Regions from separate parts of the Homo sapiens genome. Here all the other regions are linked to region 1. Evidence: promoter capture Hi-C in 16 types of primary human blood cells and fetal thymus (Javierre and others, 2016). All regions are on one chromosome and are shown on one strand. Each heading gives the region's core, a stretch centred on a gene start or on the middle of the fragment in contact. The rest is flanking DNA. Distances are from core to core; before and after follow the strand shown.

What was found. The method cuts DNA at HindIII sites, captures the fragments that hold promoters and counts their contacts. A CHiCAGO score of 5 or more calls a contact.
Region 2: a fragment that was not itself captured here is called in contact with the fragment with the promoter of TCEA1 in region 1 in 4 of 17 cell types (activated CD4 T cells, non-activated CD4 T cells, fetal thymus and 1 more); the score reaches 7.7 in activated CD4 T cells.
Region 3: a contact is called between a fragment that was not itself captured here and the fragment with the promoter of TCEA1 in region 1, in 2 of 17 cell types (activated CD4 T cells and naive CD8 T cells). The highest score is 5.9, in activated CD4 T cells.
Region 4: a contact is called between a fragment that was not itself captured here and the fragment with the promoter of TCEA1 in region 1, in 1 of 17 cell types (naive CD8 T cells). The highest score is 5.8, in naive CD8 T cells.

Annotation. Positions count from the first base shown.
Region 1 is chr8:54,020,773-54,023,752 of GRCh38, reverse strand. It overlaps TCEA1 (transcription elongation factor A1), which reads left to right and starts at 1,305. Exons shown (of 10, transcript NM_006756.4): 1 at 1,305-1,690. The coding sequence starts at 1,628. The region is part of intron 12 of LYPLA1-TCEA1 (LYPLA1-TCEA1 readthrough); the gene reads left to right. LOC133039971 (Uncharacterized LOC133039971) reads right to left here and starts at 1,720. Exons shown (of 3, transcript NR_189620.1): 1 at 1,371-1,720. RefSeq lists silencers at 252-559, 1,687-1,856 and enhancers at 1-772, 1,367-1,516, 773-1,566. The HindIII fragment of the contact is 35,827 bases long and covers 1-2,980 here.
Region 2 is chr8:52,659,657-52,662,438 of GRCh38, reverse strand. RB1CC1 (RB1 inducible coiled-coil 1) reads left to right here. Exons shown (of 24, transcript NM_014781.5): 9 at 720-904; 10 at 1,158-1,344; 11 at 1,432-1,513; 12 at 1,782-1,843. Among named protein-coding and RNA genes, the nearest start is that of RB1CC1, 53 kb to the left of the region's middle. The HindIII fragment of the contact is 207 bases long and covers 1,213-1,419 here.
Region 3 is chr8:52,709,837-52,712,927 of GRCh38, reverse strand. The region is part of intron 1 of RB1CC1 (RB1 inducible coiled-coil 1); the gene reads left to right. Among named protein-coding and RNA genes, the nearest start is that of RB1CC1, 3.1 kb to the left of the region's middle. The HindIII fragment of the contact is 3,105 bases long and covers 1-2,948 here.
Region 4 is chr8:52,677,083-52,679,926 of GRCh38, reverse strand. All of the region lies in intron 5 of RB1CC1 (RB1 inducible coiled-coil 1), which reads left to right. Among named protein-coding and RNA genes, the nearest start is that of RB1CC1, 36 kb to the left of the region's middle. The HindIII fragment of the contact is 2,231 bases long and covers 150-2,380 here.

The DNA.
Region 1 (2,980 bases), core at 56-2,555:
TAATAAAAAGATAATTTAAAAATGAAACAAAATAGGGAAACGATCCCAATACTTCTCCCCCAAATGAGTGAGTCATAACCAGGAAAAACCTGTCATCTCAGTATAGAAAGAACATTATTAGGCGGTGTATTTTGATGAATGATAGTTACGTGGTGTGGGAGTTATACCTGCAAATAGCATGAGTTGGTCGTGAAGGGTTTAAGTGGGGAAAGACTTTTTGGAGGAGCCTGCATTCTCCACTATGAACCCTGTCACAACTTAAGTCACCTTCCTCTCTGATCCTCAGAAGCTGGTGGGATGCCTTGTGTAATTTCTGACCAGAAGGTTTCCGTCAACTGTTCTTCAACTATTCAAAATGCCATGCCCAAGACTGGTTCTTAGTACTCCAGGAGCTCACGAACGATTTCACCTTTATTTATTTTTTATTTTTTTTGAGACGGAGTTTCGCTCTTGTCGCCCAGGCTAGAATGCAATGGCAGTCTCGGCTCACCGCAACTTCCGCCTCCCGGGTTCAAACGATTCTCCTGCCTCAGCCTCCCGAGTGGCTGGGATCACAGGCCATGACGCCCGGCTAATTTTGTATTTTTAGTAGTGACGATGTTTCTCCATGTTGGTCAGGCTGGTCTCGAACTCCTCACCTCAGTTGATCCGCCCGCCTCGGCCTCCCAAAGTGCTGGGATTACAGGCATGAGCCACCGCGCCCGGCCGATTTTTTTTAAAAAAAGGAACGCTTAGCCGGGTGCAGTGGCTCAGGTCTGTAATCGCAGCACTTTGGGAGGCCGAGGCGGGCGGATCACTAGGTCAAGAGATCAAAACCATCCTGGCCAACATGGTGAAACCCTGTCTCTACTAAAAATACAAAAAATTAGCAGGGCGTGGTGGCGGGCGCCTGTAGTCCCAGCTACTCGGGAAACTAAAGCAGGAGAATCGCTTGAACCCGGGGGGGGGAGCTTGCAGTGAGTGGAGATCGCGCCACTGTACTCCAGCCAGGCGACAGAACGAGGCTCCGTCTCAAAAAAAAAGGAACTCTTAAAACGAGTAACTCCGTAACCTAACTTAGAGGACACGGGTTCCATTTTTCCCCGTAGCAGTCTCCTATGGAGAAAGTGCTTGGCTTCCCACAGACTTTAAAACCTGCCAAAGTTCCATGCTCGGAATCTGCCCCCGTTTCGAGATACTTGGGCCTCCGCGAGTTCTAAAACTCCGGGATGTCCCGATGCAATAGGGGGCCGAAAACCCGCCCCGTGAGGGGGCGGGACCGGAGGTGAACGCGCAGCAAAACCGGGCGCCTTCCACGACCCTCTAGCCGGAAGCCACGCCTGCCCACTAGCCCGACGCCCGCCTGGCGGGAACATGGGCTCGCCCCTCACCAGCGATCTGCAGTCAGTTGGTAGCGCCTGCACGTCGCGCGCGGTGTTCGATTGTCGCTGCCTGGGGAGGAGGAGCCGGAGCCGCCGCCGCCGCCGCCGCCGCCGCGGGCTTCGTTCGTAAGGAAGGGGGCCTAGGCCCGGGCCTGCGGTGGTGGGGGTTGCTGCGCGCCGGGGGTCGCTCCTGCTGTGTCTTCCGCTCCAGCTTCGCCCACTTCCCCTTGCCAGCGGGGTGGGCGCGGAGAAGACCTGCCGGAGCCATGGAGGACGAAGTGGTCCGCTTTGCCAAGAAGATGGACAAGATGGTGCAGAAGAAGAACGCGGTGAGCGCGGCGAGCGGCGCGGGCCGGGAGGGAGGCCGGGCCGCGGTCCGGCCCGAGGGGGCCGCCCCCTCCCTCCTTCTCCCTCCCCTCCCCCTGCAGCCTCCCGTCTGGGAGCCGGGCCCGCCGCGCCCGCGTCCCCGGGGAGGGTGTCCGGGCCCGGGGCGTCGGGTCCCGCGGCAACCTGCGTTAGGACCCGCTCGCTCTTGTATTTCCAGTCCCTGCTCGCTGGTGCCGTGTAATAAACCTAATCGATTTAGGGATTAGGGCACGCTCTCCGTTGACTTTAAACTTTCGTGCTAGTAAAACCTTGGCAATTTAGCTTAGGAATTGAAGCGTAGAAAGTCCTCAGAACTTGAAAGAATGGAGTCTTCCGTGATCCGTGGCCAACATCTAGAAAGAGCATCAAATAGAGGCTTGTGATCGGTATTAGACATCGGGCTGGTAAAATGTAAAACTTCTGTGTCTTATTTTTGAAGAGGGCTGAACGTCCGCCTGGTTATCTCAACTGTGCTACATGTTTGCTTAGCGATTAAAAAGGTAAAGTGTGCCAGTTTCTTGGCGAGTTGCTAAACGTTTTATAAAAAGCGGGTTTTGTCCTGTCGTAATGTACAGAAGAGTTAGGACTACAGCACGCACACTCACCGGAATGCTGGTAGAGGGATTTGGACAAATTATATTGTTGGGTATTTTCTAAGTGGTTTACAGTTAATACTGGTGGCATTTTTTTTGTTATTGATGAATATTCATGTAAGCATATGCTTTTGTGGTTTGTAAGAAATCCTCATACGACCAGTTTCTACAGCTTGCCCATTTGTGTGGCACTTTCAGTCCCTTGCTTCAGACTCATCTGTTCTTAGCTAAACATATTTTTTCGAGACGGAGTTTAACTCTTGTTGCACAAGCTGGAGTGCAATGGCTTGATCTCGGCTCACTGCAACCTCCGCCTCTCGGGTTCAAGTGATTCTCCTGCCTCAGCCTCCCGAGTAGCTGGGATTACAGACGTGCGCCACCACGCCTGGCTATTTTTTTGTATTTTTAGTAGAAACGGGGTTTCACCATCTTAACCAGGCTGGTCTCGAACTCCTGACCTCAGGTGATCCGCCCACCTCAGCCTCCCAAAGTGCTGGGATTACAGGCGTGAGGCCACTGCGCCTGGCCTCTCAGGTAAACTTATATAATTGTCCTCACCTAAATTTGTTTAACCACGTTCGGCACATTTTCATCATCAGTGTACCTGAAATAATTTTTCTTCCATCTATGAAGTAAATTCCATGTCAAACTAATGTGAAG
Region 2 (2,782 bases), core at 67-2,566, 1.4 Mb after region 1:
ATATACTTGAGAGATAAATGAAGGAAGATTATGGCAGATCTATCTAAATTAATTAGTAACTTAATCCCTACTTGACAGATACACCGTTCACCTACAAAAACAAATGAGTAAGGACAGTTAAGAAAAACAGAAAAAATGTTTTTCTACCAAATAATAAAGTATAAACTCTGTGTAAAATCACACAATTCAGTCATTGTCCTAGCAATGGGAGCACAGATCAGTGGAACAAAATATAGTCCAGAGATAACTGGAGAGGGCAGTGACTTTTCGATAAATATTTTAAGGGCATTTTATTATTTTTATATTTGGGAAAGTGTCTAATATACTACTGTATAATGTTTGCTAGATTAAATCCCTTATTGTTTTTCAGTGACCTTGTTTTGTTTGTGCTGTGACTGACCGATAGTGTTATAGGATTCTAGACACATAGCTTCTAATTCTCATTGACTATTAAGTATGTCCTTGGCTAAGGGGCTTTATCTTTCTAGCCTTTATTTTCTTCTAGTTTGAAAAATTAAAGATGAGCATAGGATTCTTAAAAATTCTAGGTCTTGTGCCATTTATGCATCTACTACATTCGAGAAAAATAGAGGATTTAAAAATATTGTTAGAAGGCACAAAACGGGTTGTGTTTAACATAAAGATTTTCCACTTAACTGAATGTCCATACCTTTCATGAAACAAAATTAATGTCCTTTGAAACATTTTTTTTCTCAAAGGGATTTTTAGCTAATCAGAAGAGAGCTGAAAACTTAAAGGATGCATCTGTATTACCTGATTTATGCCTGAGTCACGCAAATCAGTTGATGATTATGTTGCAAAATCATAGAAAACTGTTAGATATTAAGCAGAAGTGTACCACTGCCAAACAAGAACTAGCAAATAACCTACATGTCAGACTGAAGTAAGTGATTCATTTATATCTGTTTTAAGATGTTTAGAATTGGTATTTATATTTATTTCTCCCAAATGATGGAGTGATTTTTCCCTACCATTTTATTGAAATACCTTATTGATGAACTTTGGAATTAGACTATTTTTGTAGAGCTTATATATCTTGATTTCTTTGGCTTAACTAAGTTAGTAAGCTTACTAAGTAAGTAACTAAGTTAGTACCAGTTTTGTGAATGTTGAAAATAATGGATTTTATTCTCTAGGTGGTGTTGCTTTGTAATGCTTCATGCTGATCAAGATGGAGAGAAGTTACAAGCTTTGCTCCGCCTCGTAATAGAGCTGTTAGAAAGAGTCAAAATTGTTGAAGCTCTTAGTACAGTTCCTCAGATGTACTGCTTAGCTGTTGTTGAGGTTGTAAGAAGAAAAATGTTCATAAAACACTACAGGGAGGTATGCAAGTTGAATTCTATTTTAACTGTATATGAACTTTAACGAATTGGTGTATGTTTATGTTTAACATAAGCTTTCCTCTTCTAGTGGGCTGGTGCTTTAGTCAAAGATGGAAAGAGATTATATGAAGCAGAAAAATCAAAAAGGGAATCCTTTGGGAAATTATTTAGTAAGTGTTCATTAATAATTTTAATTACTTTTGTAAAGGATAAAAGTTTTTATAAGCTTGGATTTTCTGTAGCATACTTCATGTATATGCTGTTAATTGCCATTGATATCTAGGAAATATTCCTTTTAAAGTGTATAGAATTGAATCCATTGTTAAATTTTAAACTTGAAGTACTGTCAACTTTTAATTTACCTTTTCAAAAACCAGAGATAATTTTTTGCCTTAAATAAAGCTCTAAAATAACCATATTGTTAATTTCTTTATACAGGGAAGTCTTTTTTAAGAAATCGTCTGTTTAGGGGACTGGACTCCTGGCCCCCTTCCTTTTGTGTATGTATTTATTTTCTAACCATGACTAAATTCCATATGTTTTAAAACCTTTTTTCCAGAAGTAGAGACATTTATCAGAAACTTGCAGAAATTGTTGTGGTTTAAAAAAAATCAAAATAAAAGTGTTTTTGGCTTTAAAAGCCAGTTAGCATAAAGCTTTAAGATTGATATTTGTATTCATAATTTTTTATAAAGAATCTTCATAACACAGGAAGATACCTTATACTGCACTGTTAGGATTGGTAGAAATAGATTCACTTGGTTTTTTTGTTTTCTTGTCTCTTCCTTTTTTTCTTTCCACCCTTCCCTCTTCTTTCTTCCACTGCTCTTCTCCCTCCCTCCTCCTTTACAGCCTCCACCTCCTCCTTGCCCTTCTATATTTCTTTTCACACCACCCCCCTTTATATTTTGACAAATCAGAATAATAAAGCCTCAGTTAGACTTCACTGGAATTAAACGTTAGTTTGATATGTTTCTAAACCATTGTTATCTGGGGTCATTAATTGTATTACATGAGAAGAAACGTTTCCATGATCAAAGCAATATGGGGGCTTTTACCCCCATCAGATGTACTCTTAGCTGTGTTGTTGTTGTTTTGGAGACAAGAGTCTTGCTCTGTTGTCCAGGCTGGAGTGCAGTGGCACAATCTCATCTCACTGCAACCTCAGCCTCCTGGGTTCAAGCTGTTCTTGTGCCTCAGCCTCCCAAGTAGCTGGGACTAGAGGTGCCTGCCACCACATCCAGCTAAGTTTTTGTATTTTAGTAGAGACGGGGTTTCACCGTGTTGGCCAGCTGGTCTCAAACTCCTGGCCCCAAGTGTTCTGCCCACCTTGGCCTCCCAAATTGTTCAGGTTACAGGCGTGAGCCACCACGCCCAGCCATGCTTAGCTGTTAAACATGTTTCTATACTGCAGGATTTCTTAGTGTTTTAAATGTATG
Region 3 (3,091 bases), core at 147-2,646, 1.3 Mb after region 1:
ACTACTGAGGGAGGTGGCTGATTTTAGTTTTTGGATTATTGGATTTATAAGCAGACCATTGCTAGGAATGTGAAAATATGTTCGCTTTTTATATTTGTTGTAACAGAATATGGCCCTAATGAAGATATTTTCTCAATAACATTCCTGTCATGTCTTTTAATGTTTGTGATTGTGTTCAAAACCTGGATAAAGTTTTATGTCAGGGATGCTTTAGGCACATAATGCTTACGTTGAGAAACCTCTGTTGATGGAAAGTGGATATTGACATAGTTCATATTTTTAAAGTAATTTTATTTAGTCTATTTTGAACTTTTTATGGTAATCAAGATATGATTATTTATGTACCTAATCCTTTATATGTTTGTTATTGGACGACAGGGAAGACAATGAAGCGGTACTTTTGTCCCTGAGTTTTTTTTTTTTTTTTTTTTGGCTCTTGCTGCCAAACACAAGATCAGGATGCATGGCAGATTTACTTTAGCAAATCAAGTTCATAAAGGCAGAAGACACAAGACTTTTGTTTTCGAAATTTTGAACCTAAATTTTGATTATGTTAGCCTGAGAAAAGTTTTTAGACTCTAATATTAACTTAAAATTTTATATCATACATTCAGCAGATATTTGAGCACCTACATGCTTTACTTTGCAGATGTGTATGTCTTATGAATATCTTTTTAAAAGAATGGCTGATAAAATTTTCTCATTCAGGTAATGATATTTTCTGACTCCAGTTACACTTTTCTTTTGTAGTAATACTGGCCTAAGACACTTTGAAAATCTAGCAGTCCCTTTCAACACACTTTCACGATTCTTTTATTATCTTTTTACCACTGTGAGGTTTTTGAACTAGTTACATGAGGAACATAAAAATGTTTAAGTAATTGTTCTTGAGTAGAGACGGGGTTTTACCATGTTGGCCAGGCTGGTCTTGAACTCCTGACCTCAGGTGATCTGCCTGCCTCGGACTCCCAAAGCCCGGCCACTGATTGCCTTTTGAATAAAGGCCCAAGAGAAGTAAGGGGTGTAAGTGTGTGACTCTCGAAAGGAATTTTTGGCAGAAGAAACAGTAAATGGAAAGGCTCTGATATACATGGCATATACCAAGAAAAATGAAGTTACTGAAGCTGGACTGGTATGAGAGAGGCGATAGTAATGGTAGATTGTGGGGCTCTACATATTCAGGTTTGGAAGTCATAGTAAGGAAACTAATGTGCTCTAACTCACAAAGGTCTACAGATGAATTCAAGTAAACCCAGCATGGCTGGAAAGCAGTTGAAGCCAAATTCACTTCATTTATTCCTGAAATGCTAATTGAACCCCTGCAGCATACTCTTTTAGCTTCAGCAATGCAACAGTGAACAAGAAAGACATATCTGTCTATGTATATATATTTATTTATAGGAAATGGGTAACCACTGGAAATTTTCATGGAGGTAAATGACAAACGCAGATTACTTTGAGGATGTAGAGTAGATAAAAGGCTAGCTAAGCCGATTGTATAGTGCTAGGTTGATGAGTTTTTGCTTAACTCACATAGATAAAAGGATGTGAAGATTACTTGTCTCTGATTATTTATTATGGACCAAATCAACTTAATTTGACTGTAAACTGTACCCCCATTGTTTAGGGTCCTGAGAGGATGGCATTTCTTTCTATCCCTTTGTAAAGTTCCGGTTCTGTTGGATTACTTTTTGTAAGTGCAGTACTTGAATGCCTCCAAGTACCCTCTTTCCTTGGCTAATTTGTTTCTGCTTTCATGGCTGTTTAGTGAGTGCTTTGAGGATTGTGGAATAACAATCCTCGCCCATTTTTTTTCATCCATGATTTTTTTCTACCCGTTAGTTTGCTCTTTTGAACTCTCATATTTTATTGGCTTGTAATTGTGCTAGGAGATAAAAATAATTGTGTTCCATTTCCTTTTTTTGTCACTGATTTGAGACTGTCCACTCATTTTTCCTTCACATTCCACACATTATACTTGTTCAGTAACTGTCCAGCATACCTGTTGAAATATTAATTCAATACCATATTATATTACAGTAATATAACGGCTTTTAGTAATTGTTTTACTGCAAATACCAGATTTGGGCAGGCTGGTTTAATAATTTGGTTATATGTTTATAGATAATCTTGGTTTAATAGAATGCAGCTAATTCTACATTTTCTTTTTTTTCCCCATTTTCCCTGTCTTATATAATTCTATATTTGCTATATAGATAATTTTGGTTTTACTGTTAGTTTCCGTTATAAAATAAAACACAACTAGAAAATTTTCACTAAAATCATGCATTTTATGTAGTTTTTATAAACGATAGGGACACCAAAATGTGTAATGCATTTATATGTACTGATACAGAAAGATTTCTGTTATTTTATGCAGTTCAAGCAAAGTCCATAGTAGTATGTAGGGTGTCACCTCATTTTTATAAAACCATATTGCCTGAATATACACATATTTCCTGTACACCTAGGGAAAAAAACCTGAAGGGTGTACTCCAAAGTATTTTTCATTTTTGTTTTAAAAGTATTCCTGTTCTGCTATTTTTACCTCATTTGCTGTCTTTGGGCACTACCTTTCTAAATGCTCGCTTCATTCTTTTGGCGAAGTTGCTTGTCTAGTTTGTAGACAAGGCGTATATTTAGGAAGTCTGAACTTTTATGAAAAAGGTTTTCTTTCAGGGAAATGTGAGGAAAATGCCTGACCTACTCATCTTTCATTCTTTTTCTTGGCAGAGAAGGGGTAGGATCAGATTAGAATACATCTGATTTGGGGAGACTGATGCCCAGTTTTCAGTCCCTGGGCAACCTAGACACTCCGTTTGTGGTGGACATTATCTCCATTGATGCAGTAGCCCGTGACCCCTCAATGAGGGAGAATTGCTAATAATTGCAGTTTACAGAATTAGAGATCAGGCAAAATTATTTCCAATCATCTTTTCTCTGAAGCTTTTAGTCCACTTTAGGGTTATCTGAGTCTCATGTGTTCTATTCAGCTGGAAAGCATCTTGAAGATATTTGTATTCCAGGCACCTAGCAGTGTCTGGCTTATGTTTAGATGCCCCCAAAATAGTGGATGAATAATGAATGTGTC
Region 4 (2,844 bases), core at 16-2,515, 1.3 Mb after region 1:
CCTTGGACAAAATTTAGCAGTTCTAGGGCTTTTTCTCACGTTTTTTCCTTTGGCTTTTTGCAAGTATGTAACATAAATAGGTATTATTTCTTCTGCTACTCTCTAATTTCAGATAGGGCCCCAAGAGGTTCTTGCTGTCCACCCAAGCTTCCCACAAGGAGGATTCAGTTCTCCCAAGTTTTGCTAAATGTCTGCAATAGTGGTGTGAACCTAAATTATCGTGAGACAGGTCACAATCAATTTAGAAAATTTATTTTGTCAAGGTTAAGGACACACCCAAGACATAGCTTCAGGGGGTCCTGGTAACATGTGCCCAAGGTGGTCAGGGTACAGTTTGCTTTTATACATTTTAGGGAGACATGAGACATGATTATGTGTAAGAAGTACATTGGTTTGGTTCAGAAGGGCAGGATAACTCGAAGCGGGGTCTTTCGAGTCCTTGATCAGCCTTTCACTCAATACATAATTTAGTCTGGCTCAGTGCATCTGCATTTTTACATAAACAATAAACAGTAAGACAGAGGAAGCAGATAGGCCTTTGTTTCAGGTCAGCAGAGGTGTGACTTTCTGTCCCGCACATATGAAGATATGCTGTCAGTTTACATTGTGAAGGTGAAATTCAGCAGAACTGTTTTAGGTTAAAGATCTTGAAGCCTACAAGAAATTTCCCTGTGGCAAAATTGTGAGGGAGGTATGTAGCTTTCTTATCTTTGTAGCTATCTTATTTAGGAATAAAATTGGAGGCAGGTTTGCCTGACATAGTTCCCAGCTTGATTTTTCCATTGGCTTAGTGATTTTGGGTTCCCGAGATTTGTTATTCTTTCACAGTGGGTGCCCTTTTTATTTGACCCAAGTTGATCAGTTTTCATATTCTTCACAGGTTTGCTGCATATATTGTATGTGTGGGGTGGTAGTTGTTTCCTGGTTTCATCAAGATGGTGTCTTGTTTCCCTTTTGTATTTGGTTGGTTTCATGAAGGAGAAGCAGGCAAAGACATCTTTACTTCATTATCTTACAACTGAAACTATTAGCCCTTTCTTATACACATATGGAATTAAGAACAGGTGAAGATAAGTCATTTCTTCAAGGCCAGATAGCCAGGGAGAAGAAGAACCTCTTTTCTCCAAGGCCAGTGCTCTTTACATTCATATCATTGTACTTCCAGAAAGTAAACTTTCATATTTTACCTGTAAAGATATTTCTTTTCACCTAAATTTGTTCATTAACAATATTATCTTCTAAAACAGAATGGTCATAATTTTGGCATCCTTATCAGCCAAATATATCAGCAAATATATCAGCAAAATATATAGAGAAAATACTTCCTCTTTCGTTGCATCCCCCACTCCATCTTAATGATGGTGGAACATTTGTTTTGCATTTTCCTAGACTTTGATATACACACAAAATGCATTTCTCTCTCATACCTCTGTTGTTTCACATTTCTAACTGACCTTAGCCTCCCCAAATAAATGAAAGCATACTATACTTTTTTTGTTGTTGTTTTTGAGTTGGAGTTTTCGCTCTTGCCACCCAGGCTGGAATTCAGTTGTGCGATCTTGGCTCACTGTAACCTCTGCCTCCTGGGTTCAAGTGATTCTCCTCCCTCAGCTTCCCCAGTAGCTGGGATTACAGGTACGTGCCACCACACCCAGCTAATTTTTGTATTTTTGGTAGAGATGGGTTTCACCATCTTGGCCAGGCTGACCTCAAACTCCTGACCGCAGGTGATCGCCCGCCTCAGCCTCCCAAAGTACTAGGATTACAGGTGAGAGCCACTGCACCCGGCCCATACTATATATATTATTCCTTTTTCATTGTTGCAAGGTACTCCCATTTTTGAAATATCATAAATTTATTTTCCTAGTAAACAGTGCTACAGTTGAACTTATTTTACATTTATAAATTTTAACAATTCATAAAATTGAAACATTTGAATATTTTATATCCTCCATCTTTTGTGTGTTTAAGAATCTTCCTCCTACATTTTCTACATGCGCTGCAAGAACTTCTTGCTTTAATGTACCCAACAGCTCTTTTACTCGTCATTTCAAGGGTGTCACCTCTCTTTCATCTGTTTAAAAAAATCTGAAAACATTTTATTTGTTATTTCATAATTCCAGAGTTTTTTTCCCCACTCTATTTTAGTGGCAGCATGATTGATTAATTGACATTAATTGACATGGCACATAATCATTTTACTGACATTCCTACCCCATAAAGACCATCTTACTTATTTACTTTGGTAACTAGATAACTTACAGTAGCTTTTTTACAGTTTGCCTGGACAACTTAAAAATAATCATTTTACATCCATTCTTTCAGGTGCCTTCCCGTTCCACCTTATGACATTTTCTGTATTATCAGTCTTCTTAAAGCTTCTATTTGATTACATTCTTCATGTTAAAGAGTTCTTGAGGAGGTCTTTTCTGAGTAAAGTCCAATTCCTCCTTCCTTACCTTAGTATCTTCTGGGTCTTTGATCATCTGGCCCTCTTTCTCTCGCTTTTTCCTCCAGACCATTTGTTCTTAACCAATAGTGCTTCATATTTCCTGTCTTTGCCACTTCGTGTTCCACTCTTTTGAAGTACTTCTTTCCCTATCTTTGTTCATATTCTTTTCATACCTTTATACTTAAGTTAAATGCCTTCAGTTAACTTTGACTTCTCATTTCCTGTCTCTTTTGTGACTTTTATATCTGTCTCATACCAGTTAACAAAGGTAGAATGATCTGTCTTATTTCCTTGCCAACTAAAATATTTTATAACAGTGGACTTCTTTATATATCTCCATATATAAAGCAATCTACATTGCTGCCTTGTAATTTATCCTTAATAAATATTTT